Regions from separate parts of the Homo sapiens genome. Here regions 1, 3, 4, 5, 6 and 7 are each linked to region 2. Evidence: promoter capture Hi-C in 16 types of primary human blood cells and fetal thymus (Javierre and others, 2016). All regions are on one chromosome and are shown on one strand. The core of a region is centred on a gene start or on the middle of the fragment in contact, and the rest is flanking DNA. Distances in the headings are between cores, read along the strand shown. Region 1 overlaps LOC105373454 (a long non-coding RNA gene). Region 2 holds the start of TTC32 (tetratricopeptide repeat domain 32). Region 3 overlaps LOC105373454 (a long non-coding RNA gene). Region 4 overlaps LOC105373454 (a long non-coding RNA gene). Region 5 overlaps LOC105373454 (a long non-coding RNA gene). Region 6 overlaps LOC105373454 (a long non-coding RNA gene). Region 7 overlaps LOC105373454 (a long non-coding RNA gene).

What was found. The method cuts DNA at HindIII sites, captures the fragments that hold promoters and counts their contacts. A CHiCAGO score of 5 or more calls a contact.
Region 1: a fragment that was not itself captured here is called in contact with the fragment with the promoter of TTC32 in region 2 in 1 of 17 cell types (erythroblasts); the score reaches 5.5 in erythroblasts.
Region 3: a contact is called between a fragment that was not itself captured here and the fragment with the promoter of TTC32 in region 2, in 2 of 17 cell types (naive B cells and non-activated CD4 T cells). The highest score is 6.1, in naive B cells.
Region 4: a contact is called between a fragment that was not itself captured here and the fragment with the promoter of TTC32 in region 2, in 1 of 17 cell types (endothelial precursors). The highest score is 5.9, in endothelial precursors.
Region 5: a contact is called between a fragment that was not itself captured here and the fragment with the promoter of TTC32 in region 2, in 1 of 17 cell types (erythroblasts). The highest score is 5.0, in erythroblasts.
Region 6: a fragment that was not itself captured here is called in contact with the fragment with the promoter of TTC32 in region 2 in 12 of 17 cell types (total CD8 T cells, naive CD8 T cells, non-activated CD4 T cells and 9 more); the score reaches 18.6 in total CD8 T cells.
Region 7: a contact is called between a fragment that was not itself captured here and the fragment with the promoter of TTC32 in region 2, in 5 of 17 cell types (megakaryocytes, naive CD8 T cells, total CD8 T cells and 2 more). The highest score is 10.3, in megakaryocytes.

What each region holds. Positions count from the first base shown.
Region 1 is chr2:18,444,066-18,447,872 of GRCh38, forward strand. All of the region lies in intron 4 of LOC105373454 (a long non-coding RNA gene), which reads left to right. Among named protein-coding and RNA genes, the nearest start is that of RDH14, 110 kb to the right of the region's middle. The HindIII fragment of the contact is 1,754 bases long and covers 800-2,553 here.
Region 2 is chr2:19,900,393-19,904,284 of GRCh38, forward strand. It overlaps TTC32 (tetratricopeptide repeat domain 32), which reads right to left and starts at 1,591. Exons shown (of 3, transcript NM_001008237.3): 1 at 1,314-1,591. The coding sequence starts at 1,462. RefSeq lists enhancers at 552-1,433, 684-873, 1,014-1,073, 1,154-1,253, 1,434-2,314 and 1 more. The HindIII fragment of the contact is 3,134 bases long and covers 1-2,716 here.
Region 3 is chr2:18,387,070-18,390,810 of GRCh38, forward strand. LOC105373454 (a long non-coding RNA gene) reads left to right here. Exons shown (of 8, transcript XR_001739302.1): 2 at 1-222. Among named protein-coding and RNA genes, the nearest start is that of RDH14, 170 kb to the right of the region's middle. RefSeq lists a silencer at 724-853. The HindIII fragment of the contact is 3,437 bases long and covers 495-3,741 here.
Region 4 is chr2:18,409,282-18,413,002 of GRCh38, forward strand. All of the region lies in intron 4 of LOC105373454 (a long non-coding RNA gene), which reads left to right. Among named protein-coding and RNA genes, the nearest start is that of RDH14, 150 kb to the right of the region's middle. The HindIII fragment of the contact is 1,941 bases long and covers 328-2,268 here.
Region 5 is chr2:18,427,048-18,430,692 of GRCh38, forward strand. The region is part of intron 4 of LOC105373454 (a long non-coding RNA gene); the gene reads left to right. Among named protein-coding and RNA genes, the nearest start is that of RDH14, 130 kb to the right of the region's middle. The HindIII fragment of the contact is 3,445 bases long and covers 1-2,973 here.
Region 6 is chr2:18,527,958-18,531,665 of GRCh38, forward strand. It overlaps LOC105373454 (a long non-coding RNA gene), which reads left to right. Exons shown (of 8, transcript XR_001739302.1): 8 at 1-3,708. Among named protein-coding and RNA genes, the nearest start is that of RDH14, 31 kb to the right of the region's middle. The HindIII fragment of the contact is 2,143 bases long and covers 1,234-3,376 here.
Region 7 is chr2:18,503,366-18,507,079 of GRCh38, forward strand. All of the region lies in intron 6 of LOC105373454 (a long non-coding RNA gene), which reads left to right. Among named protein-coding and RNA genes, the nearest start is that of RDH14, 55 kb to the right of the region's middle. The HindIII fragment of the contact is 4,359 bases long and covers 1-3,714 here.

The sequences.
Region 1 (3,807 bases), core at 427-2,926, 1.5 Mb before region 2:
CAGGACTGTCAGGGAAAGCTTGGCTCGGTGCTTTTATTGTGTTTTCTGTGGGAATGGCGAGCAGAGCAGGGAAACAGCTTAGGACTGGCTCTTGAATAATGTCGGCAGGCTCTGGGCTATAGGATGGTTGGTTCCTGGGTCGATTTAGGGCAGGGAAAATATTGGTTTGGTATGGGAAAGCTAGATAAAGAAGGAGGTTAAGGGCCTGGCCTCTAAGGACTGGTTGGTTTGCATGGGAGAGGTGTGTTGGCAGGCCAGTTGCTTATTGTCTCTGGGGATTAGCTATCCCTGGGAGGGGCAGTCTCTCCCTGTCCAGTTAGGCCCCCCAGAATGTCAAAGCAGCATAAATATGTTTAGAAATTTGGATTAATATAGGATAGAGGAAAAAGGAGAAAGGGGGGGAATAGTTGTTGGGGTAAGGCCCCTGAGAAAGTGGAAATGAGGGGATTCTGAGGATAAGTGAGGTTGTGTCACCATGGTTTGGAGGGGCAGTACTTTCTCTAAGGTTGAAGGGAAGGTGCGAGACGGCAGAAAGACTTCTTCTCTTCTGCTATGTGGAGAGAAAAGGACCTCATCCTCAGATGGCCTCAATCTTAGCAAAGAAGGCAATCTAAAATACTTCTGGGAAATGATCAAGACAGAGTTTGGTAAAGGATTTGGAAAGAATGGAGACACTTTTAAATAGCTGTTGGGGAAAATTCAGTGAGTAATTTTCTAGGTGTGAGTAAAAAACAGCTATTAGGGTCCAGCTGAGGTTATATTCAGACACAAAGACAGGAATAAATTTGACTCAGGGTTAAGCTTGTATAGTTGCTAATGATGGACATAGTCCTTTAGAGTTTGCAGCCTTGTCCTTAAACTTCAAGTCCTTGGACAAACAAGTCTCTGCACCAAGAATTGCCAAGATGATACAACAATTGATGTTGGCTGCCATTCAGATCCCCATTGTGCTTGGCTCTTGACTTACGTGGGAAGCATCCTGGGATGCTCCTTCCTCCTCTTTTGTTAGCTAGAAGACCTATCCATCTACCCGCCAAACCCTCATCCTTACATATTCACATTAGGAGATGGTTAACAACAGCTCCCCTCCCAATCCCTGCCATGACATGAGAAAGGGGTAAAAGAAAAATTCTATCATCATTTTCCCCAATATGTGATATCCTGAAAATTTTCACAGATCTGCTTAAGTCCTTGTCTTTAATGAAATTAGGAACAACCTCTGCAACGAGCCCTCAGATGAGACTCAAACTGACAGGAAATGAATTTGCTAATGAATTCATTAATTATTCCATTATTTATTTTAATAGAGCCTTACCATGTGTACTGCACTATAGAGGATGACCTAATTAGCATTGCTTTCTTCATGCTTGGTTTAGTAACTGATGTCTCCAAATACTTGAGTGAGGGCAGATGAAGAAGAGAAACATGAAACAGCCCCCAGATGTCAACTGATTCCACATGACAAAGGCTGGCTGTGTGAGGCAATAAATGTGTTCTGCCGACATCGGGCTGAGCAGTGCCAATATGGACATCTTCAGAAAAATAATGAGCCAACGTGGCCATTTCTCTGGGCCTTGTCTTCTCTCCTTCCAACTGAGCTGCATTTTTTACTCCCGATTTGGAAGCTATTTACAGTACATCTCAACGAGCCAGCCCGTGGTGCTGGCTCCACTTTCTTTTGGAAATATTAGAATTTGTCCCCTGAGGGAGTCAGAACAATTGTTTGTTAGCTTAAAATAAATCATACATTTGATCATGATTGTGCAAGACTCTCTTCTTCTCCCTGAAGTCTCCATCTCAGGGCTAGTGGAAAGGGAGATGTCCACTGGGAGGCTAAAAGCAGCACCATTGTCTATGGGGACGTACTGTCTCTTATCTGGAGATAAAAGAGCCAAGAAAAGAAGCAAAATAACACTACAGGGATTGCCTGAAGTGTAACTGATGGCTTTTACCAAGAAATGAAATCAAAGGGGGAAATAACTAACCATCAGTGGGAGGGGCTGGGGGAGTAACACCCAAGCCAACTTTTCCCATAGCTCTCTCCAGTGGATCCTGTGAAGTAACTAAGGGCAGGCAAAGCAGGCAGGAGTTGTGCAAAACCCACAGACACCCCAAACAGAGATTTCAACAGTTCCAGCCCAGCTCAGTGACTGTTGCATTGTGTCCCTTTGTCTGGCCATCAGCCTGGACCTTTTCTCTGATCATATGAAAAACATTTCTTGTCTGAATCACACAAATGGTTCCTATTTCTTCACCAGTCACACATTCTCTCTGGACAATCTCATTCATCTTTGAAGCCCAATACCACATGCAGGAGGATGAAACCTCATTTGTACACTGTAGACTCAACCTCCTTTCTGGGCACTAATTATTTCTGTAAAGCCATGCCTGATTATCTCAAAGATACCTTAAACACAATGGATTCCAAACCAGCTCTATCATTTCACCCAAAGCCTGTATCTCCTCCTTCCTGACATCTTGGTCAATGGTCACCATATGCGCAGCCTTTCAAACTCAAAATATGTCCATGTTACTACATAATTATTGATCTAAAGCTTTGATCATAGCAGGCCTCTTTGAAAAAGGACAAAATACACATCTCAGCCTGGAATGATCAGCTTCCTGAAGTCTCAGAGCTGTGCAGATTGTCTTTATTATCTTATTTGCGCTCTCTGAGGCATTCAATGCCTTTGACAACTACCCCCTTCTTGGAACGTCTTCCTTAATTCTTGTAACCTTCTATTTCTTTATCTATTCTCTTTGCAAGTTTCTTGCTTTGGCTCTTTCTCCTCATTCTCTTTAGTAATATTATTCCCCAATAAAGATGTTATCTAATCTCCCTTGTCACTCTACATTAGCATGCCTAAGAAACATGCTGGGAGCTTCTTATTTAGTTGCTGTCCATGTTGCTGCAAAGGACATGATTTCATTTCTTTTTATGGCTGCATGTTATTCCATAATGTATATGTACCACATTTTCTTCATCCACTCCACTGTTGATGATTAACACCTAGGTTAATTCTGTGTCTTTGCTACTGTGAGTAGTGTTGTGATAAACATACACATGCATGTGTTTTTTTTTTTGGTAGAACTATTTATATTCCTTTGGATATATACTCAGTAATGGAATTGCTGGGTCAAGTGGTAGTTCTGTTTTAAGTTCTTTGAGAAATCTCCACTACTGGATTTCAAGTTATACTACAAGGCTACAGTAAGCAAAATGGCATGACACTGGTACAAAAACAGACATATAGACCAATAGAACAAGTTAGAGAACCCAGATATAAAGTTGCACACCTACAGCCATCTGATCTGTGACAAAGTCAATAATAACAAGCAAGAGAAAAGAACTCTCTATTCAATAAATGGTGTTGGGATAACTGGTTGGCCACAGACAGAAGAATGAAACTAGACCCCTACCTTTCACCATACACAAAAATCCACTCAAGATAGATTAAAGACTTAGATGTAAGACCTAAAACTCTAAAAATCCTAAAAGACCTAGGACATACCATTCCAGATATAGGCCTTGGCACAGATTTCATGAGGAAGTCTCCAAACGCAATTGCAACAAAAACAAAATAGACAAGTGGGACCAAATCAAATGAAGAGCTTCTGCAGAGCAAAAGAAACTATCAACAGAGTAAACAGACAACCTATAGGATAAGAGAAAATATTTGCAAGCTATGCACCCGACAAGAGTCTAATATCCGGAATCTATCAGGAACTTAAACAAATCAACAAGCAAAAAATCAAACAGCCCCATTAAAAAATGGGCAAAGGACATGGACAATTCTAAAAAGAAGA
Region 2 (3,892 bases), core at 341-2,840:
TCTTTCTGGTTTAATTCCATGTAGCGTAACAAACAGGGTAAGAATCAAGTCCTTAGTGTTTAGTTAAGCCTCATACAAAAGACAAGCTGGCATCCTGTCCAGAAAACTCAAATCCACAACAGACAACTCACAACTATTCAAAAAGCTGTTCAACCAACCCCTCTGTTCTTTTCTCATCCTGATCCACTCCATACCATCAACAAGCCCAGTCGAGGCAAGACTTGGAGTAAAAACAAATGCTACACATCCAGGCACAAGCCGAAAAGATGCTTTGGGCAAGCAGACAGTAACAGGTGAAGCCGCTCACATCACAAAGAGAAAGTCAGCGAATCGTTATGTGCTTCCTGGTGAAAGTACACACACCCACCTAAAAAGTATTCTTGCCATGATATTGAATCTGAATTCAATTGGATCAAACCTCAAGGTTTAACCACCAATTCACAGCAATATGAGACAGATGACCACATTAAACGACAGAAGAGATTCAGTCAGCAAGTCCAAAACACGGAAATTCAAAGGACACAAGAATCGGTTTCCTCAACAAATAAAGAGGGGAAGGTGGAGAAGAGACTTAAAAAGACTTGATGTGTATCCTGACTTGAACTAACTGCGAAAAGGGAACCAAAGAACAAAACACCTTATTAGTCGATCAGAATGGTTCCAACACTGACGACTTGATATTAAGTAACTATGTGATGATGACATGGTGGTTCCTTCTGAAACATCCATGGATGAATACAATAGGTAAACTGATAATGCTTAAGCCAAGTGATAAACACCTAGACGTTCGTTATGCTCTCTTCCACATATTTAAACGTTTTTCACAAGTGAAAAACACCACCAAGAGCCTGCGCCGTGACACTGAGATGGGAGTCGCGGTACTGTGGCCCTACGCAGCCGTGACCCCTTCCCTTCCCAGGTCGCGGATTTCCCGCCAGCTAAAATCACGAGTGGAAAATTCCTATCTGTCCTAAGTCTCTGGGTGCGAATGAGGAACGTGGAAGGAGAGACGGCGGGGTGAGAGGCGGCGGCCCGCGCCCGAGGATCGCGCAGAGGGCTTGGTTCCCGGAAATCTCTCCGCACCGTCGCGGCAGCTGGCTCCTCACGGGTGGGCTTCTCCCCGCGTTCTCCGCCGCCCTCGTCCTAGGCCTCGCCTAGGCCTTTCTAGAAAGACGAACGTCCGCCCGCTCAGTCCTAGTGCTGGGTTATGACAAGCGCCGACCGTGAGCTCCAGAGGCAAAGATAGGAGCCCAAACAACCCCAACGTCGCCTCCACCCGGGGTCGCCGCGGCCCCAGGTCTCGCGATAGTTACCTCCCGGGACTCTCGTCGCTGGAGGCCGCGCAAGCGCACCGGCGAATGTAAGCGGAGTACAGTGCCTCGGCCTCCGCGTACTCTCCATTGTTGAAATGAGCCTGGGCGAGTGTTAGGGTTGCGTGGCTTTCTTGCCGCTGTCCTTCCATAGCAGCCAAGGCCTAGTTTTCGGTGTAGAATGGGGGTTGACCTCCGAGCGGTTAGAGGTGGCACCACAAAGCCACTTCCACACCCTGGAATCTACCTTGACAGCCAACCTTGGCGCTAGGTTTGTGCCTTATGGGGATCCGTCGTCTCGCGAGATAACGGTTCCGCTGCTGGCGGGGCGTTTGCAGTGGCCCTTGTGAACTATGTTTCTGCCGTTACCAGTGTTGGACCCGCCTTCCTCTTTTCCTAGAAAAGGCGCAGATGCGTGGTCGCAAACTGATTTCCAAGTCCGTTGTCTGATGCTGCGAGACACTATCCGTTTGTTACAGCGAATTGGGGGCCGATGACGCTGGAGGTGGAAGAAGCCGCGGTTCTGTTTCTTAATGGCGAATTAGCCTGCGGACGTCCTGTCATTCCCTTGCCTTTTAGCGTCCCAACTTAGCAAAACTCCGCGTTTAGGGTGTTCTGAGTAGGCTTTGTCTACCCTGAAACGCTTTGTGTCGACATTCCACCAGGTCTGTTCCACGGTCCAAACTTCTCTACCTTTTTTGACCCTCTAGAATTGTGTTACGATTAGTAGTATATTGTGTCGAGAGTCTGGGATCTTTGATGTTAGTTATATTCCCTGGCTGTTTATGCCAAAGGGAAATCCAAATAGTAATTTATTACGTACATTACGTATAATTCAAATTAAAATTTTGTAAGAACAGTTGCCAACCACGCTACCCTACATGCCTGCTGTGTATCTTCTCGGCGTCCCTCGATTCTGTTTTGCTTCCCAAAGTACTTGAGCCCTTTCCGTCATAAAAAGTAAAGATGAAAAATATATTTGGAGCATGATACTTACATGCGGAAGTCTTAACAGGACATAAATTGTGTGCTTTTGGCTGCTTTCATTAGATTTTTAATTTTTTCCTTTTACCACCACTGAAAAAAATACAAATACAGTGGATTAAGGTTAAATTAAAAAGCACTAGTAGAAATTAAAAGATTGCAAGACTACAAAAAAATAAACTGGCATTTCTGGTGTAAGCAAATGGACAGCTCAATAGAACAAAAGCCCAGAAACATACCTCAAATAGGCTGTATTTTGTAAAAGACATGTAACATATATGGGGAAAGGACAGATTATTCAAATGAGTGCTATTGGGAGGATTAGTTAACCATTTGGGGAAAAATACATTTAAGCATTTAAGCTCCCAATTGACATAATATTCATTCCAGGTGAATTAAAAGATTAAATAAATAAGATAAAAAGCTTTTTTTTTTCAGTTCCCATTTATTTTTGCCTCTTGGAGCAATGTCATCTTTTCAATATGAAAAAAACAAAACAAAAAACAAATCTGAAGTACAGGATAGAACAAAACCAAGTGTGTTGGGGGAAGCAACAGCAAAGGGAAGACAAGATGTTGCAAAAAAAAAAATGGAGGGGGGATTCCCCTCTCCTCTGGGGAATGACTCAAACACTGATGTGGCAGCGTACACTATTCTACATAAAGCCAGGGATGTTAATCCTTTTGGGGGATAAGAAAAAGTGGAGATGGCCAGGCTCTGTGGCTCATGCCTGTAATCCCAGCACTTTGGGAGGCCTAGGCGGGCAGATCACCTGAGGACAGGAGTTTGATAACAGCCTGGCCAACATGGCAAAACCCCGTCTCTACTAAAAATGCAAAAAATTAGCTGGGCGTGGTGGCGGGTGCCTGTAATCCCAGCTACTCATGAGGCTGAGGCACAAGAATCCCTTCTGGGTGGAAGTGGTTGGCAGTGAGCTAATTTTTGTATTTTTTGTGGTGATGGGTTTCCCCATGTTGTCCAGGCTGATCTCCAACTCCTGGGTTCAAGACATCTGCCCACCTCAGCCTCCCAAAGTGCTAGGACTACAGGCATGAGCCACCGCACCTGACTAGAAGTTTTGCTTTGTTCTGTTCAAGGAATAACAGGAATATTTATGTGTCTAAAAACCAGTGATCTAAGAGGAAAATAGCAGGATATGTAATGGAAATTGGGGATTTGGGAAGGGGGTTTCTAAATAGGAGTAAGATTCTTAACCTTTTTTGTGCTATGGCACCTTTACAAGTGTGGTGAAGCCTATGTCGTTTCAATGTTTTCAAGTGTTTTTAAAACATAGGATTACAAAGGAAAGGAATTATATTAAAAAACAGTTGGAATATTAACAGATTTATTAAAAAGTAAAACATTTATTAACATTAAATATCAAGAACAAATGGCAAACACAAAACTAGCAGAGGAAGAAAATAATAAAAGATCAAAACACAGATAAAACAAAAATGGAATCAACAAAACCAAAAGTTGGTTCTTAAAAAGATTAAAAAAGTTAATAAAACTTGAGCTAAATTGACTACGAAAAAGGAAAAGACTCAGATTACTAAAATCAGAAATGAAAATGGGAACATTACCATCAATTCTACAGA
Region 3 (3,741 bases), core at 963-3,462, 1.5 Mb before region 2:
AGTTCCTCTGGCTTTTGGACTGTAGGACTCACACCAGCATTCCCTGTCCCTACCACCTCCACCACCCACCAGCTTTCAGGCCTTTGGCCTGAGACTGAGAGTTACACCATCGGCTTCCTTGGTTCTGAGGCCTTCATATCCGGACTGAACCATGCAACTGCCTTTCCTGGTTCTCCAGCTTGCAGTCGGCCTGTTGTGACACCTCTCAGCCTTCCTTACAAAGTGAGCCAATTCCCTTAATTAATCATTTCTCCTCTCTCTCTGTCTCTTTCTAGCTTATTGGTTCTATCTCTCTGAAAAACCTTGACTGATTCAGTCATCTTCCTAAAAGAGTTCAGCATTTAATAAAATCCCTCTAACCCACAGGCCTAGTCCTCTCTAGGCTGGTTGCATTAAGGGATAGAAAGTCTGGAGAAGACTTTCCAATCCGGTTTTGGGGGCGAGTCAATTGCATGCGTGAAACTGAAGTTAGCAGGAGAGGGCGCTGTCCCCAAAGCTTCAGGGCCTGCAGATGCTCAGAAAGAGCTGTCAGCCTGGTCCAGGCACAGGAGAGAAGAACCAGTGTCCTGGACGAGGGGACCCGGAAGTCTGGAAAGCAGCCAGTATACCTTGGGAAGGGTGGGCAGGAGGCGCAAAGGCAGTCCAGCAAGCACAGAGGGACTGTTGAGGAATATTACAGGGTGGGGCAGTTACTGGGGGTAGGAGGTGAGGGAGAATTGTTTGTGACCCACATTGCACAGTCACCTTAGAGTTTTCCAGAAGTGAGTCCTGAGAGGAGGCACATGCAATGACCAGCCATAGCCACTAGGGGGAAGCATTTGCTTGTGAAACCAACGACCTAACCGACCAGTAGCCAACTCAGATTCCTGTCACTATACCCTTGAACTATCCCAAGAAGTGGGGATTGACATTTTCTAATGAATTATAAACTAAGAGACACTACTGCTGACTCTCCCCAGGCTAGGATTCTAGTTTAGCCGCAGGATGACCACAACAGACAAACCTCGCATGCTATTTGCCCATGAGTGGTCGGTCACACCCTGGTGATTTGAGGTGCATCCCGGGCACGGTCTCAGAGGTCAAGGTCTCTGAGCCGTCTTCTTTACTTATTGGCTAAGGGACTGTCTTCCTCCTTTTCATCCCTTGGGGCAGCAACATCCAGTTGCGGTTTGAGAAATCTGAAAGGAGACAGACATAGGCCCAACTACTCTTGGGACAGCTGTTTTTGTTTGTTTGTTTGTTGTTGTTTGTTTGTTTTGGATAGCTGTTTAATGAATCTCAGTGACAAACTTCAACTCTTCGATTTAGTACATATCTTGGCTCTTAGGGAGTAGGGTTCACATTTCAGCTTTGCTGTTTACTAGCTACATGAACTTGGATCCATCTCTTAACTCTCAGGCCTTTGGTGTACTCATTTAAAATGTAATCACAGAGCTGCTGTAAAGGTTAAATTAGAACCATATATGTAAAGCATCAGCACATAAAAAGAGCTCCAATGTGAGTACCCTTTATTCTTTGAATGATTTTCTTAACCAATCAGCCTTCCCTTAACGGGCCCAGCCTGGTGCTGTTGCTTCCAGTTATCGAAAGGATTATTAGGTGCTTGTGCACATTTCAAGTTTCCTTGTGGATGAAGATCCCATAATTTTCATTAGAGTATCACCTCTCAAACTTCAGACATTTTGATACCAACTTTATAATTGTTGCTATGTCTGCTATCCATTTGCACTATTATTTATTAAATATTTTTTTAAATCAACTCTTTTTTAAAAAACTTAATTTTAAAAGGAAACTTTATGTCATTTTTATAACTGGAAAACTAGTGTCACATGCAATAAATAAAAAGGTTAGCATAAAAATAACCATTAAAAGAAACCAAGTGATTAAATAGTGCATTACATAAATAATAGATACACCAATCAATATATTAAAATATTCCTGAGGATCTGCAGCAAGCTGTACCAGCCCTAGGTAATTTTAATAAGTCATTTAATACACAGATACAATGATTAGTGCATTTCAATAATCAAAACAAGCTGCACCAGCCCTAGGTAATTTTAATAAGTCATTTAATACACAGATACAATGATTAGTGCATTTCAATAATCATAACAAGCTGCAAACATATTTGGAGTTGTAAATAAATAAATAAATTCAAATAAAATATATATCTACTGTTCTTTGATAACTGATTTCATCTTTTGTATATGCCCCTCTCTGGTCAATTCTGTTCATTTGCATAATTAAAGCTGCCTCTTCAAATAACTCTCTTTCTGGTCAATAATCCAAATAAACTCTCAGCTTTTGGGTGTTTTCTTTCTTCCTCTGTTTTTCTCCAAGCTGGTAGCTGAGTTTATGGCAGAGGGCTGTGTCTTTGTGATTTTGTGTTGATGGCTATGGGAGCAGGGTATCTGTGAGGTGTGATATCGACCCTCTGCTCTTCCTGATTGTAAAGTAGTTGCTCGGCTGGAGTCTGGGTCCACACTGCTTGGCTCAAGCCTCAAAGGCCTGACCCTGGCCTTTGCTCTGATCCCATACCTTTGCTGGCACACCAGCCCTTTCTTGATATGTCTGTGTTCCTTCTTCAGAACATCCAGTGCTTGATCACTCTGCTCTCCTTTCTCCCTTTTTTGCCCAATAATCGCCACAAAGGGCAGGTTCTCACCTCTTCCTCTTCCAGGCCAATTAGTCTTCCTTATGTAAAACCCTACATTGGTTGGATGCGGTGGCTCACACCTATAATCCCAGCACTTTGGGAGGCCAAGGTGGGCAGATCACTTGAGGATCAGGCGTTTGAGACCAGCGTGGCCAACACAGTGAAACCCTGTCTCTACTAAAAATACAAAACTAACCAGATGTGGTTGCATGCACCTGTAGCCCCAGCTACTCGGGAGGCTGAGGCAGGACAATTGCTTGAACCCAGAGGCGGAGGTTGCAATGAGCCAAGATTGGGCCACTGCACTACTGCCCGCATGACAAAGTGAGACCCTGTCTTAAAAACAACAAAAACAAAAAACAAAACAAAACAAACAAAAAACTCTATATTTAAGTCACCCAGGCCATGTTAAAGATGGGGTTTGCCATTAAATTATAGTTTTGAGATAGAATCAGAAGTTACCTTTTCCTTTCACTTCACATTTTTGCTATAATGGTTATAAATATCTTTGAGGCAAATGGAGATCCTTGGCAGATTGAAGGTTGATCAGTTCAAGAAACTGTTACCCAAGTGAGACTGGAGAAAAGACCACTTTTATTAATTATACATCAAGAGCTTTCCAACTTTTAAGGAGCATATCTCAAAGATCCAAATAGAAGAATATACTAAATTATATGCACATTAAGACTTACATGTGTTGCTGGGTTTCTTTTGTTGTTGTTGTTTTACTTGTCTTGTGTGTTTGGGGTGATTCAGGACACTGGATGTTCATCAACACATTACAAGGCGTAGAACTTTTTCTGCTTATCCTGTGACACACGACTGTAAAAGATCTTTGCAAAGAGTTTTGAAAATGGATAAATGAAGAAACAAACCTATGATCATGAGAGAAGAACCAGAAGATTTCAATACTCAGCCACGAATCAGCAGAACTGTGCAGAAGCAGGGGAGCTTCTCTCTGGAGGCCCCACTTCATGTCAGTCAGACTTGTAGGAAGGGACTTTATTTCATGTAGTTATATGGGAAAGATTTGGTTTTCAATCCATCTTAATTTAATCAAAAAAGGGCCTTTTAGGAAAAGCCAT
Region 4 (3,721 bases), core at 48-2,547, 1.5 Mb before region 2:
ATGAGTTGATACACTGAACCTAGAGCTTCAATAGTAACAAGATTTACTGGAACCAGCCATTTTGAAAGCTGCTCATATTGACCTTACAGGATAATTCCTGCCAAAGGCAGATCTGAGGATTATGCTTAACCTTCCTGCCAATAATAAACTGCCAAACTAGAAACCTCAACTTATTTGTTGTATAGGGTAAGAAAGAAAGAAGGAGGCAAATATGGCCAAAGGTTTGAACTGTCCCATTGTTACTGGAAAGGCAGTGGGCTTCTCAGAACATCTTTTATTTACTATAGGTTTTAATCTCACTGTTCCTGGATCCAAGATAAGATTATAAGCTTGGCTCTTACCAGGCATGAGACCCACAGCCTAACGAGAGCCTGAGAGCTGGTTTAAAGATGGAGAGCATGTATTGGAGATGAGAGGAGAGAATAGGGATATATTAGAATACAAACTTCATTGACATGACAATTTCTTATGATGTCTATTTCTGAAATGCTTATCCTAGTAGAGTTAACGCAGTTTTCTCATAACATCCATCCACTGAGTCCTTTATGTGCTTCAGACCTCTAGAATTAGAGCTACACTCTGTAGAAACTGATTGTGTAAAAAAGGAAAAAATGGTTAGCAGTAATGCATGAGAAAAGGATCATGAGCTTCAGAGGTCTGTAGATCTGGGCCTGAATACTACTGCAACTTATATCACCACCACCACTAATACTATACTTCCTTGTGTTTACTGAGCTCATATAATGTGCAATGCATAGTTTTGAGAACTTTGGACCATTATCTAATTTAATCCTTGCAACAACTGTATGAGGTCAATATTACCCTTATCTCTACTATACAAACAAGGAAACTGAGGCATCAAAGGCTTAATTAACTTTCCAAAATTTACATAGTTTATAAGTGGATAATTAAATTCACATAAAACATTAAGCATATAGTTAATAGCTGATTAATCTGAACCATGTTAATGAACCTCTATTAAATGGGGTTGAAATACCTACATTCTTTAAAGATAAAACAAGACAGAGAAGTACCTTTGAGAGTGCCTGACACATAATAGGCGCATGATACATGTACACTGTTTCTCACTTGATTGAAATAAATCCAGACAGAAAAAAGTTTTTTTGTTTTGTTTTGTTTTTACAGTGGCAGACATTGAACACATTATTCCTGATAGAGGTTCGAGCATTTTTGTAAAAGGAGGAAAGGAGAAGCCTAGGAACATAAGAATAACTCAGTGGCACATGGGGAAGAGGGCAGTCACAGAGCATCAACTACTGAGGCTTCACCCAGGATATAGAAAGGGTCTCACACCCATGGTGACAGTGACCTGGCTCTCAGCATAACATTAGAAGGTGCTTCGTCTCTGAGGTTCTTTGTCAGTTATCAATTTATTACCTGTCAGCTTCAGATTTACCCTTTGTTATCTGCTTTGCAAAAATATAAGTAAGCCTTTTAAATAATTACTCCCCCTGCTGTCTGGCATGATGTTAAGTTTTTGTCAGTAGGAGACATGGAAAAGTCCTTCTAGGAGGAAGCAATAGTCTTTTCTAGTTCTAGTGTGCTCTCTCAGCAGACTCCTGCAGCATGCCTAGGTCATGCAGGACACACAGCTTCCTTAGTGCCTGGCTTCTGCAGTGCATGTATTCTCCAGCAACAGGCTCCTGAGTATGCACAGTTTCCCCAGCACCAGGCTCCTGCAGTGCACAGCGTCCCCAGCACCAGGCTCCTTGAGTATGACAACTTCCCCAGCACTTGCACAGCTATCCTCAGTACTCAGCAGCAAGTGATTTTGTAGCACAGTGTCTCAGGCAAACCACCTTTGCCCAGCACCCTAGAGGATAGATGAGTATGCGTGGCAGAACTTCTCTGCCATCCATAACCATGCCCTCCACCAAGGTCTGGATCTCAGCCCTGGGGCAATGAGTGAGAGGCTCTTGGTAGGGTTCTCTCTTTCAGCCCTGAGGATAGTGGTTGCTCCTTAGCTCTTCTACACCTGTGTTCTGTAGCACACTCTTTACCTCTTATTAGCCAATCCCTTACTACTTTAACGCTCTGTTATAGCTAGTAATTTTTATATTAAACTTCCTCTGTTCAAATTTCCACATAGTTCCTGTCTTGTGATTGGACCCTGACTAATGCAGGTACTCACTGTTGTCCTTACCCAGGTGGTGGCTAAAGGGGCTCAGGACTTATTCCTAGGCCAGTAGCAAAGACTTTAGGCTCAAAGCAAAGCCACAAAGCAAGTTAATCCATGATATCACTGGAAGCTTCTATAACTTCCTGAGTTCAAACACTGACATTTTATCTTCCCCAGGAGAAGGGGTGAATTTAGTTCTATTTCTCAGGGTGATTGGAATGTTCTTTGTCTAGTGTATGTTTCAATACTAACTTAGATTCATCTATTTCTTTATTAGAAGAAAGGTCCTGAGAAAGCTAGCTTTGTAGATGAGGAAACTTTCTAAACAAAATTTCTGTGGTCGAATGGTATTAAAGTGTCCTCTATGGGCTCTATAATTCCAGCTGGCCATGTCTTTTGGCCAGTGAGAAAATCTGGCTTTGTATTTCAGTAAAATGTTGAAATTAAGTTGCTTTTAACTAAGCTTGAAGTTGGAAAATATGATCATACTGAGTAAGTAAATCACTCTAAATAATGGTCTGAATACCTTCTAGTTTTTCATTTCTATGGCACTGAGATAATCCATATAGGATTTCTTGGCTTTTGCAGTAGTGAATATGCCAATGTACTCTGATTAAATCACTGGAAAATGTAGAGAAAATTTCTCCTTTTGGAAATAATTGTATTAGGTCAGATTCTCATCATAAGAAATTTCTTGGTAAGAAATTTAGAAAAGCAAAACAGAAAAATCAAAAAGTTTTTTTGCTCTGTCTTTAAACTCTAAGTACATCATTCTATGTAATCTTAAGGAATGGTTGCGTAGAAAATGTGAGAAAATATTTTTCAGATAGAAACTTGATAGGGCTAAATAGAATAAGAACTTAGTGTATTGTTTATAAACATGCACATTAATGTAAAATATTGTCATTGTTGGAGGAATATTTATGGTAACTCAATTAGAGAAATTACCATTCGCTTATAATCTTTCTCTTTAAATTGAAATATTGGAGTGTAATTTAAACTTTGGAAACTTTAAATTCTAGCTGTTCTGTCATTACATACAGAACAGCTTTCCCCCAAAATATTTTCAATTGGAACATTTTTAAATTTCATCATATAGTAATATCTAGGCTTTTCCCTATGCCCATTTCATTCTCTCAGTGAAAGATTGTCTGCTTTAGGAGTAAAAATAGCTCTTTCAGGTCTCATTACTACTAATAACAATTTTTTAAAATAATGTTAAACACAATGCTACATCTCAATGTAATGTTACTTAGTGCAAGGGCAACGCCTTGCAAACCTCAGAAGAGCCTAGAAAATAGCAGAATCTAAAATTTTAAGTTATTAAGAAAATACTAGATTATAATGAATGAGATTATTCTAATGAAGGGACAAAATATATAAAGCAATTTTAGAAAGATTTATATTTGAAATAATGATTTTTTAAAAGTTTGAACCCTATAACACAACTCATTCCCTAATGGCTTTCTGATACCTGAGATTTTTCCAATTAGCTTAAAACATGACATTTTTAACTATCAGTATAAGTCAATATAGTTACTGTTTGTTACGTATTTGCTTTAAAATAAGTTCTTTATACAT
Region 5 (3,645 bases), core at 1-2,500, 1.5 Mb before region 2:
CCTCTGCAACATGACGGTTTACATCTTTAAAGTCAGTAAGGGAGAAAGTTTCTAGAGCCAGTCTTCTAGCAAGACAGTCATACAATGTGACATAATCACATCACATGATTGAGTGATATCCCATCACTTTGACCATATTCTACTGTTTACAAGCAAGTCACAGATCCCACCCATACTCAGTGAAGGGAACTATGCAAGGAGTGAATATCAGAGGGCAGGAATCATAAAGTTTGTCTTCTACACAAGATGTTTTAATTTAATGAATAGATGAACAGATGAGGAAAGGACCACATACAGGGGGCTGGAAATGAAGCAAGATAATACTTTGCAAAGATAATACTTTGCAAGATTTCCAAACCTGGAATCTTATTATTGATTATCACCTATAACATGACAATAATTATACTCACTTCACAAGACTATCAGGAGATTTAAATAAAAAATGCAGATAACATATCGAATAAAATGCTAGCAAAAGGAGGTGTGCAACAAGTCTTCCTTTTCTCTGATTTTCTGATGACCTTGAGAGGTCTTTTCTTCATGCTGGGGCTCAGCTGGCTCATCTGTAAATGAGTGTGTTAGCTCCAGAAGATATCCTGTTGCTCACTACCAACTTGAAATCTCACATCACTGGACAGCAATGACTTAACCCAACAGTTACTTGTACACAGTCTCCTCATGAAAAAAAAAGAACTTGAAAAAATAAACTGAAGACAAAAGATAAGGGTCTTCCCTTCTGCCACATAATCATGGACTTAAGGGCAAAAAAATGTAATTCTCCTTGGTCAGCCAGTTGGAGACATTTTGAAAGTTGGATGTGAAAGATTAGCCATATAAAACTTTGTATGGAACACTTAGAGATTAGATCATCTGGCTCATTTTATATATTGCTGTCTTCCTAACTGGTTGGAATCTTCAGGGAGAGAAGTTTGGCTTTCTTTTTCCTTTGAGTAGCTGTTTACAAAACATAACTTTGATTTAAACAACAACTCTAGCTCCATTACAACTGAGAGAGAGGAATTTCTAACATTTTAAAATCTAGAAATGGAAACTTACATTTCTGGTTAATTGGCTTAAAATGGGAGTCAGTTACTCTATGTCATCAAGGAGCAGATAGGGGAGAAAAACAAAGGAGGATCAAGTCACCACTTGGATTGATAACCATGCTGGCTGAGGATGCTGTTAACTTCCTGGGCTCCATCTATGATTTTTCTCTTTATGCAACTCTTTTCTGGGTTTCTATTTGTCACATTCAGAAATCCCTGCTTTCTCTCCAACTCTCTTCCTTGCCATGTATGTCTGGCACACCCAGAAGAATTAGGGGGTAATAGTAACAGAATTATTATTCAGGCTGAGACTGTTTCCTTTTTCTTCTTCTCAAAATGAGGTGTCCGAGTGTTTGAAAAATTTGGCCAACTGTTTGGATAGACACTCTTGCAGTTTATTGTCCCTCATGAGGCCACCGTGAACATTTCTGGGGCATTCTGAGGTACTCTGACTGCAATCAGAATGTCTTACGTCTATCAGCTTGAAAATAGATCTGTAGATGTAACTTGAACTTAGAATTCAAGACAAAGTTACACCCGTATTTTCTTTGTCTTGATTTCTTAAAGCCTGCATATGTAATCACGGATACTGCAGGAGTAGGAGACATGCCTGTGCTTGAGTGCCTCCTGAGATGTTTCACCCCAGGTGCCTCACCCATTTTGCCCCCGTTCTCTTCCTGCTAAATAGGGCAGGAAGCTCCTCACTGAGATCTAAAATGAGCTGGGCATGAAGATTGTATATTAGCTTCCTAGGGCCGCCATAACAAATTCCTACAAATTTGGGGGCTTCAACAACAGAAATTCATCGTCCAATTGTTCTGAAGGCTAGAAGTTCAAAATCAAGGTGTTGGCAGGGCCATGCTTCCTCAAAAGACTCTAGGACAGAATTTTTCCTTGTCCATTTCAGCATCTGGTGGTCCCAGGTGTTCTTTGGTTTGTGGCAATGTAAGTCCAACATCTGCCTCAGACTTCAAATGACCTTCTCTCTCTGTGTCTTCTCCTCTTCTCATAAGGACAACATTGTATTAGATTGGTACAAAATAATTGCGGTTTTTTGCCATTGCTTTCAATGGAAAAGACCACAATTACTTTTGCACCAACACAATATTTAGGGCCCACCCAGGTAATCCAGGATGATCTCATCTCAAGATCTTTAATTTAATTACATCTGCAAGGCCCTTTTTACAAAGCAGATCACACAGACTTCAGGTGAACACAGCTTTTGGGGACTCACCATTCACCTCAAGACAGATTGGAATCAAGAGATTGAAATCCAGAACTTCAGACCATGAGATGATGATTTGTGAAGGATTATTTATTCAACATGTCTTTGCTGAGTGCTAGCTCTGTCCCCAATACTATGGTCTTGTTACAGTAGGTAACTAGACAGACATGAGCAGAGCAGGAGAGGGCTCCCCTCGTCCCCACCACCACACGCACCAGGAATATCAGGTGACCATCAGGTGATGGTCAGGCGGTTGTTAACTGCCTCTCTAAAATAATAATTGGTTGCAGTTGGTGCCAGGGAAAGGCAATGTCTTAATAGATAGGAAAAACCTGAAACTGGCAACCAGTAGCTTCCCAGTAAGATCTCAGGAGCTGGGTGAGTGGGCTCACACATGTTTGCTAAGAGGCAAAATGACAGAGTTTAACTGGTATATCACCTCCTAGAAACATTTGACTTGTCAGGAAAGAATGCCTCTATGGAGCGTGTGTACAACTCCAATAAACACACCAACTGAGCTTGCTCCCCTCCCAAGTGCTAGTAGGCCACTGTGCATGCAGACAGCCCACCCCAACAAAAGACCCCGGAAGTGTGCCAACGTATAAAACCCCAAGTCAAAGGTCAAATAGAGCACTTGATCTCTCAAGTTGCCCGCTTGGCCCTCTTCCAAGCATACTTTACTTCCTTTCCTTCCTGATCTAAAGCTTTTTAATAAACTTCCATTCCTGCTCTGAAACTTGCCTCAGACTCTCTTTTTGCCTTATCCCCCTCTGTCCGATTCTTTCTTCTGAGGAGGCAAGAACTCAGATTCCTGCAGGCCCCTATGGATCCACTGCCACTAACAGCCTCCAAGTGAGACAAGGTTGAAGATGGCAGTAATGAAACTGACATGATTTTGTCTCACATCTCCTTAAAACAATACCAAAACAAAAATATTTTAGCTACACTCTCTCAAGGGACTTAAAATCTATTGGGAGAGAAAGACAAAGACAAGTCAACAGAACGTTTGATTCAGGGTGGTGAGTGCTAACGAAGGCACACAGCATTGGTTTTAAGAATAGGGTGGCTGATGGCGTTTAACTCAGTGCAGTGTTCAAGGAGCTCCAGCCCAATCGGTGCCTTGGCATGATGTGTATTTAAAAAAATATTTAAGAACAAAAAGAAGAGGCTTCAATTTTTAAAAATATGTTCAGTAAAAGTACATTTGATGTGGCCAAATAAATCACTAATGACTGAAGTTGGTGAAGTAATGAAGCAACGAATTTTAGTCACTCTAAAATCAATCTCAGCAACACATCGCTAAGTATTCAAATTCTACCCATCCTGACAGGTCAAACTCAGGTTTACCTTCTAGAAACTCTTCCAGACGACCAG
Region 6 (3,708 bases), core at 1,055-3,554, 1.4 Mb before region 2:
TTCTCCCAATAATACCATGCTACAGATATCTCTATAATTAGATGCCCATCGACTATTGCGTCATTTCCCTGAGTCTACAGTCACCCTGGCATTGTGGCCCCTGGAGTCCTAGGTGCCTTGGCAGTTGCAGACTCCAATGTTTCTCTGCTCAGTGCCTTAAGATTTCTCAGCAACTGTCCTCTGCCAGGCTTCCCAGGCCCCTGCACAAAGAATTAGCCAATGCAGGCATCAAAGTGGAGTTCAGAAAATTGTGCACGCAGCTTAACCTCCTGGCTGCCTCAGCAGCTCTCTGCTGCCTTCAAGACAATTAATTTTTTTTTAATGTTTTTCTTACTGTTCTCAGCTAGAACAGTGGTTTGCTACAGCTACTGCATCAGAACCAGAAGTGGACGTCAACATGTTTTTGAGATTTGTATTATAGTTTGGGTCATTATTTTTAACAGCTGAATATAATTTATATATATAGTACATTGTATTTATTTATAGGTGGACGTTTGAATGTTTTCCAACTTTTCACTGTTAAAAACAATGCTGTAATGAATATTCTTGCACATGTCTTCTTGTACACATCTTTGAGAATTCCTCTAAAATATACATCTGGAAGAGGAATTGCAGACCATACAGGCTGCTAATTTTTAATGTAATTATATATTGCCAAATTGCTTTCTAAAGTAGATGAACCACTTTACATTTTCACCAGTAGTATGTGAGTGTTTGTGTTTATCACTAGCTTTGATAATTCTTGGTTGTGAAACCATTTAATTTTTGCTAGTCAATTGGAAATAAATTTATATCTTCTTTTTCTGATTACTAATGGGGCTCTCCAGCTCATTGCATTTCGGGATTCCTTTTCTGGAAATGCCTGTTCACATCTCTGGTTGATTTTCCATTGGATATTTGTCTCTTCCTTATGAATGTATTATTTATACAACCTAAATACCAATTAACCCTTAGTCTGCTATATATGTGGCAAATCAATCCACAAGTATCCATTGAGAGCCTTCTGCATGCAGTTCTAGGGGCATAAGGGTAAATAAAACAGACTAGGTCTGATTTCCGTGAGGCTTATGTTCCAGTGCAAGAAGACCGAGCATCATCAGTTTAACACAAAATTAGTAAAATGACATCAAATCAGAAGAAATGCTATAAAAATAAAACAAAAAAATAAAATAGAGAGGGATGGGTATGTCAGATGTTTTAGGTTGGAGAGGTTACAGAAAAACCTGAAGCAGAAGCTTGAATGAGAAGAGAGAGCCCCATGAAAATAAGGGGATAATGCTTCCCCACATGGATGAAAGTCCAAGACCCTGAGGTGGCACCAGCTAGGCACTCAGTGTTTTTTTTTTTTTTTTTCTATGTCTCCATCCTCCAAAGGCCAAGATTTTCTCTAATGAGTGCTTTACTCTGTGCTCCAGCAGGGCCACAATTATTGCTATCTGAATCTGAGTTGTGGCAGGCAAGATGTACAGATTATTCTCTGGCACAATAAATTGGGTTTAACTCAAGCCCCCCCAGCAGTGGTAATAGCTGAAGAAGAAAGCCTTTCTTCCACACAGCACAGTTCATGCTATTTGGAGGGCATCCTGATGAAAGGCATTGGCACTCTGGATTCAGGTTACCCACATTCATATCCTCCTTCCAGTTTATTAGCTATGAGACCCTAAAGCAAGTTCTCCAAACTCTCTGAGCTTCCATTTCTTCTTGTGTAAAATGGAGATCATATTTATGGTAGAAAGGCCTCTAAGGTGTCCCCCCAAAGATCCCAGCCTCTTGGTATTCATACTCTTGTGCAATTCCCTTCATGGAGTGGACCTAGTAACTTCCTTGTAATTAATGAGAATATCACATAAGTGACAGGATGTCACTTGTGAGATAAGGTTTTAAAAGACTCTGAAATCAATTTAAATCCATCTTGCTGTCTCCCTTCCTTGCTCTTTATGTGGAAGCAAGCTGCCATATTGAGAGGTCTATATGGCAAGAAACAAGGATATCCTCTGCCCAACAGCCAGCAAGGAACTAAGACCTACCAATAGCCACTGAGTGTGCTTGGAAATGAACCCTACCCTAGTTGAAATGAGGTGACTGTGAGCTGGCTGATATCTTGATTGCAGCTGTGTGAGAGACCTGGAGCTGAAGGAATCAGGCAAGACATACCTGGATTCCTGACCCACAGAAACTTTGAGATAATAGATGTGTGTTATTTTAAGTCACTAAAATTTGTGGTAATTCATTATATAGCAGTAAATAATTAATACAATAATAGGACCTTATCATGTCATTCCTGTGAATCTGAAATTACAGATGATTCCTGACTTAACAGTAATTCCACTTACTTTTTTTTTTTTTTTTTTTTTTTTTTTACTTTACTGTGGTGCGAAAGTGATACACATTGATGGAGTTATGTCCTGACAAAACCATTGTACAGCGAAAATATTTGGTGGAAAATAAGCATTTTTGACTTAGGATGTTTTCAATTTATGATGGTTTTATCCGAGTATAACCCCATTGTAAATGAAGGAGAACCTGCAACTAACACAAGTGTTAAGGGCACATGGTAAGGGCTCATAAATGTTAGGGGCTGTTCTCCTACTCATTGCCGAAGAGTTGGGCAGTGGGTGTTTTTACCAAAATTAAGGCTGACAACAAGTCCTGCCTCCTGCAAACCCCCACTGAAGCCCATTGGATCACAGGTCTGACCAAAGCATTCTTGCAGTTTTAAATCTCAGGAGTGGCTCCTTCAGATGGGCTATCTTGAAAGCACCAGAGTAGTCTCGTCCCTTAGTCCTAAAAAACCAAAGGATAGAGATGGCCTCGGATTTTAGTACCTTCCTGCTGTTCTCTTCTATTTTCCCAGTACTCCAGCTGCTCTCGGTTCTGATTTTCTCCAGGAAGGCTTTTCATACGGACCCCAGTGAGTTCTCCTTCCTCTGAAAACCTTAGCTATTTTCATTATGGTTATGGTTTTGTATTTCTTTCCACCCTTGTGCAACACCAGCTACCTGAAGGGGATTTTACATGTGCTTGTCTGACATCGACTCCCTTGGAGGTCTCTTTGGTACCGACGTTCACTTTCACTCTACTGCCTTCTGCCCATCTGCTATTCAATTCTTCCCACCCTTGCCCCTGAACTACATGGCAGTGGGTAAGCGTATCCTAAATGTTGGCAGTGCAGTGGCAGTAGATGGCAAGGATGTTTCAGGTGGTTCTTACAGGTCTCAGGTAACATATGAAACCCGTTTCATTAGTAAAACCAAAACAAGGGGTCCTGTTGCATGCTCCCCCATAGGAAATACTTTACAGCTTAGGGGATCCAGGCTATAAATAACTGTGCCAAGTCTGTGAAGCATATTTTTTTTGTCAGTTTATCCAGATCAGAAGCTTCTGAAAGTCCAAAGCCCTTGAGATTATTTGCTTTGTAACGATAAGAATGTGCAAGGTACTTCCACATTTATGATGTCATACAGACTCCAAAATAATGCTGGAAGATAGTCAGGAATCATTAACTCCATTTCATAAATGACTCAGAAGAGGGAGTAACTTGCCCAGGTTTATAAAGGACTGGGGTGGGCTTTATAAGGACAGGGGTGGGCTTGAGTTCAGATCTTTTGCATCTAAATGAATATTGACATGGTGAATATTCAGAGTTCTTACTCCGTGCTAAGCCCCACATTGAGTGTTTATACATGTTATCCCATATATAGTCATATT
Region 7 (3,714 bases), core at 584-3,083, 1.4 Mb before region 2:
TATACTTTCAAGAACCGTGCATAATAGCAGTTTTATTTGGCTTTACTGAAGTGACACATACTTAGCAATTTTATCCATTTGAATGAGGGAATAACAAATTGCAATGTTTGCAAGCTGAGCAGGGCTTTTCAAAGACCATATTTTAAGAGGCCCATGCCACACTATATCAGACATACTAAAACGTATTCACATCTCAATTAAATATTATTTACATATGCATATTTGTGGATTTCTCTACATATACACATACATATGCATATATGTATGTATACAAATATATATGTGTATATATATCTCTATATGAAGTGAATTCTAATTTGCTAGTTAAAATAATGTTCTGTTTCATACCTGTTTGACCATATTGATGTCAATTTTCCAATTTTTCTTTTTTACTTTAGAGCCAATGCTGCTTTTGGGGCATCATTTTTATAGGATCTGGACAATGGAGAGGCATGTTGGGTTGTTGATGGGGGCAGGTGCTTCCTGATCATCACTGTGAAACAGAAATAAGCCATGGCTTTGACCTAGCAGCCCAGCCTCACTGCAGAGCGGACGTCTTTGAGCAACACTGGTTGTGTTGACACAGACATTAGGTTACATCCCTCACTGCTGTTTCCACTTGTCCTGATTTTTCCTAGCGTCCTCTTTTGCTCTGAGATTTTCCAGGATTTTTCACACCACTTAGGGGATTTGCAGATGGAAATTTTGAGTAAAATGTGTTCACTCGTTTTCATGTTATGCAAGAGTGAAAACAAAAAAGCCTCAAACTCAATTTAGGATGGAGTGGGATGGGGTGGAGTGGCGCCCATGCACGAAAAACTCAAAACTGCTAAATTGCAAGAAGCAAAACTTTCCTTGAGCTTAATTTTCAGTGTGGGAGATTCTCTGTAGGGGTTTTGGGGAAAAAATGACAGAATTTTTAAGCACCATTGACACGAATATTTGCTACATAGACTTTGAGTGATGTACCCATTTCCATGTTGTAAATTGATAAGCAAAGGGAGTTGCTGAGGCTGGAAGTTACTGTTAGTGGTTTCTGAGGGTATCATGCAATGATTTTAGGAATCTTATCTCCACACTTTCTACTCCCACCACCCGATCCTCTTTGATGCCCCCGTGACTTATGCAATCCTATCTCTTACATTTTCATTTTTGTTTAATGTTTCAGACTTAGTTAAAACTCTAAGACACAATTGTAAAATTTCCTGTTTGAGGGAAAAGAATCTTTTTTTTTTTTGTTATACTTTACGTTTTAGGGTACATGTGAACAACGTGCAGATTTGTTACATATGTATACATGTGCCATGTTTGTGTGCTGCACCCATTAACTCGTCATTTAACATTAGGTATATCTCCTAATGCTATCCCTCCCCCCTACCCCCACCCCACAACAGGCCCCAGTGTGTGATGTTCCCCTTCCTGTGTCCATGTGTTCTCATTGTTCAATTCCCACCTGTGAGTGAGAACATGCGGTGTTTGGTTTTTTGTCCTTGCGATAGTTTGCTGAGAATGATGGTTTCCAGGTTCATCCATATCCCTACAAAGGATATGAACTCATCATTTTTATGGCTGCATAGTATTCCGTGGTGTATATGCACCACATTTTCTTAATCTAGTCTATCATTGTTGGATATTTGGGTTGGTTCCAAGTCTTTGCTATTGTGAATAGTGCCGCAATAAGCATATGTGTGCATGTGTCTTTATAGCAGCATGATTTATAATCCTTTGGGTATATACCCAGTAATGGGATGGCTGGGTCAAGTGGTATTTCTAGTTCTAGATCCCTGAGGAAAAGAATCTTTTAATGTTCACCCCATGGAGGAGTGTTCAGAATGCTTTTCTGACAGTTGCTAAGCATCCATGCATAAATTAGATGCAGATTGAACTATACAGAAACTTTTCCCATATGCACTATAAGCTCAGTTCACTTCAGTCTGCAAAGAAACAATACATACATGTAGAACTATTGAAGATTAAATTAAATAGTGTATAGCAAGCAACTATCATAGTACCTTATATATAACAGTGGCTTAATAATTAGTAGGTAGATTATCATTTTTATTTTAGCTAGAGCAGATCCTAAGAATGAAATATATCTATGTATAGATTGTAATATTCTTAAATTCTTTTTATATTTTATATGTGTTAGGAACATGAACACTTACCCACTCACTCTATTCACGTGGCCAATTGAGAGTTCCATATGAGTGGTTGGTTCACTAATTGTTGTCCCCTGGGAGGGACAGAAGAGCAAGAAACTATACCCACTTCAGTTTATTTCCAAATTGTATCAATGAGAAAGTGGTTGATTTTGAAGTTATGTTAATGTATAGAATTGTTTCAGTTCTCTGGAGCCTACTAAAAATACATCTGTCCCACAAAGTGAAGTTGTGAAAGATAATGGCATTTCTCTCCCTATCTTGATAATAAAGAAGTGATTAAAGAACTGACAGTTCTTCTCTGTGTCAAACCTCCCTGAACTGTATCACAAAGCAGGACAATCAGAAATGATGCAATGTTATGAAAGGGAGGAAGAGTAGGAGGGAAAAATTAAGAAATGAGGTGGAGAGAGGGGAAAAGAGGGAAAGGGAGAGGAAGATGAAGAGGGAGAGCGAGAGAGGTGACAGAGTATGTTCTTAATTAGCAGATTGCAGCAGGGGAGAGATCTTAACGGCTGGAACTGGACATTCTGAGACATGGTCAGGGGAAAGAAATCAGGTTTCCTCTTTGCCTGAGGGCAAAACATTGGCAGTTCCTCATAGAAGCAAAGTGCAGGCTTAAGTTCTTGAAATCCAAGGCGTTGTCAGCTTGAAGTTTATCTAGATCACAGGTGAAAGGTTAAAGTCAGTATGAAATTCAACATGTGATAATTTCATTGCACTGGCAACTTGGAGTGGTGGCTCCATCAGGTTCCAGAGGAAGGTATCCAGACCGGGTGTGGATGCAATCATCCAAACAATAAGCAAAGCCCAATGGCTTGGATACCAACCCTGGGGGAGGATGGATCTGGCATTTGCGTCAGTTAAGTCTGCCCAACTCCCTTCCTTCTTCCCTTCCTCTTTCCCCCTCTTTTTCTTTTTTCCCTCCCTTTCTTCCTTATTCAAAACATTTGCAGATAGCGAAAATTTATATTTAAACATATATAAAATATATATGTATAGCTCTATGAATGATTATAAAGAACTACTCTTGTGAAAACAGCACCCAGGTCAAGAAATGGGGCACCTACAGAACCCCAGAAGCCCTGTGTCTGCCTCTATGCAATTGTAATCCTCTTCTCATCCGAGAGGGGTAACCACTATGCTAACTATCATCATAATCATTTATTTGTTTTCCTGAGCTTTAATGCTGTTAAAATTTTTCCTCAAAAGCATTATTTAGTTTAGGCTATTTTTCAACTTCCTACAAAAAGAATCACTGTATACACACACACACACACACACACACACAGCTATATATATATACACACATGCATATATATAATATATATACACACATGCATATATATATTATATATACACATATGCATATATATAATATATATGTACAGTCCCATGATTTGTTCATTATTGAACATTATGTTTAGAGATTTTTCTTATGTTATTGTACGCAGCTGCTGTTCATTTATCTTATTTTCTGTATAGAATACCCTGGTATAAGAAACTGTCATGCAGGTAGCCATTCTACTGCTGGGGAACAGCTAGGTTACTTCCA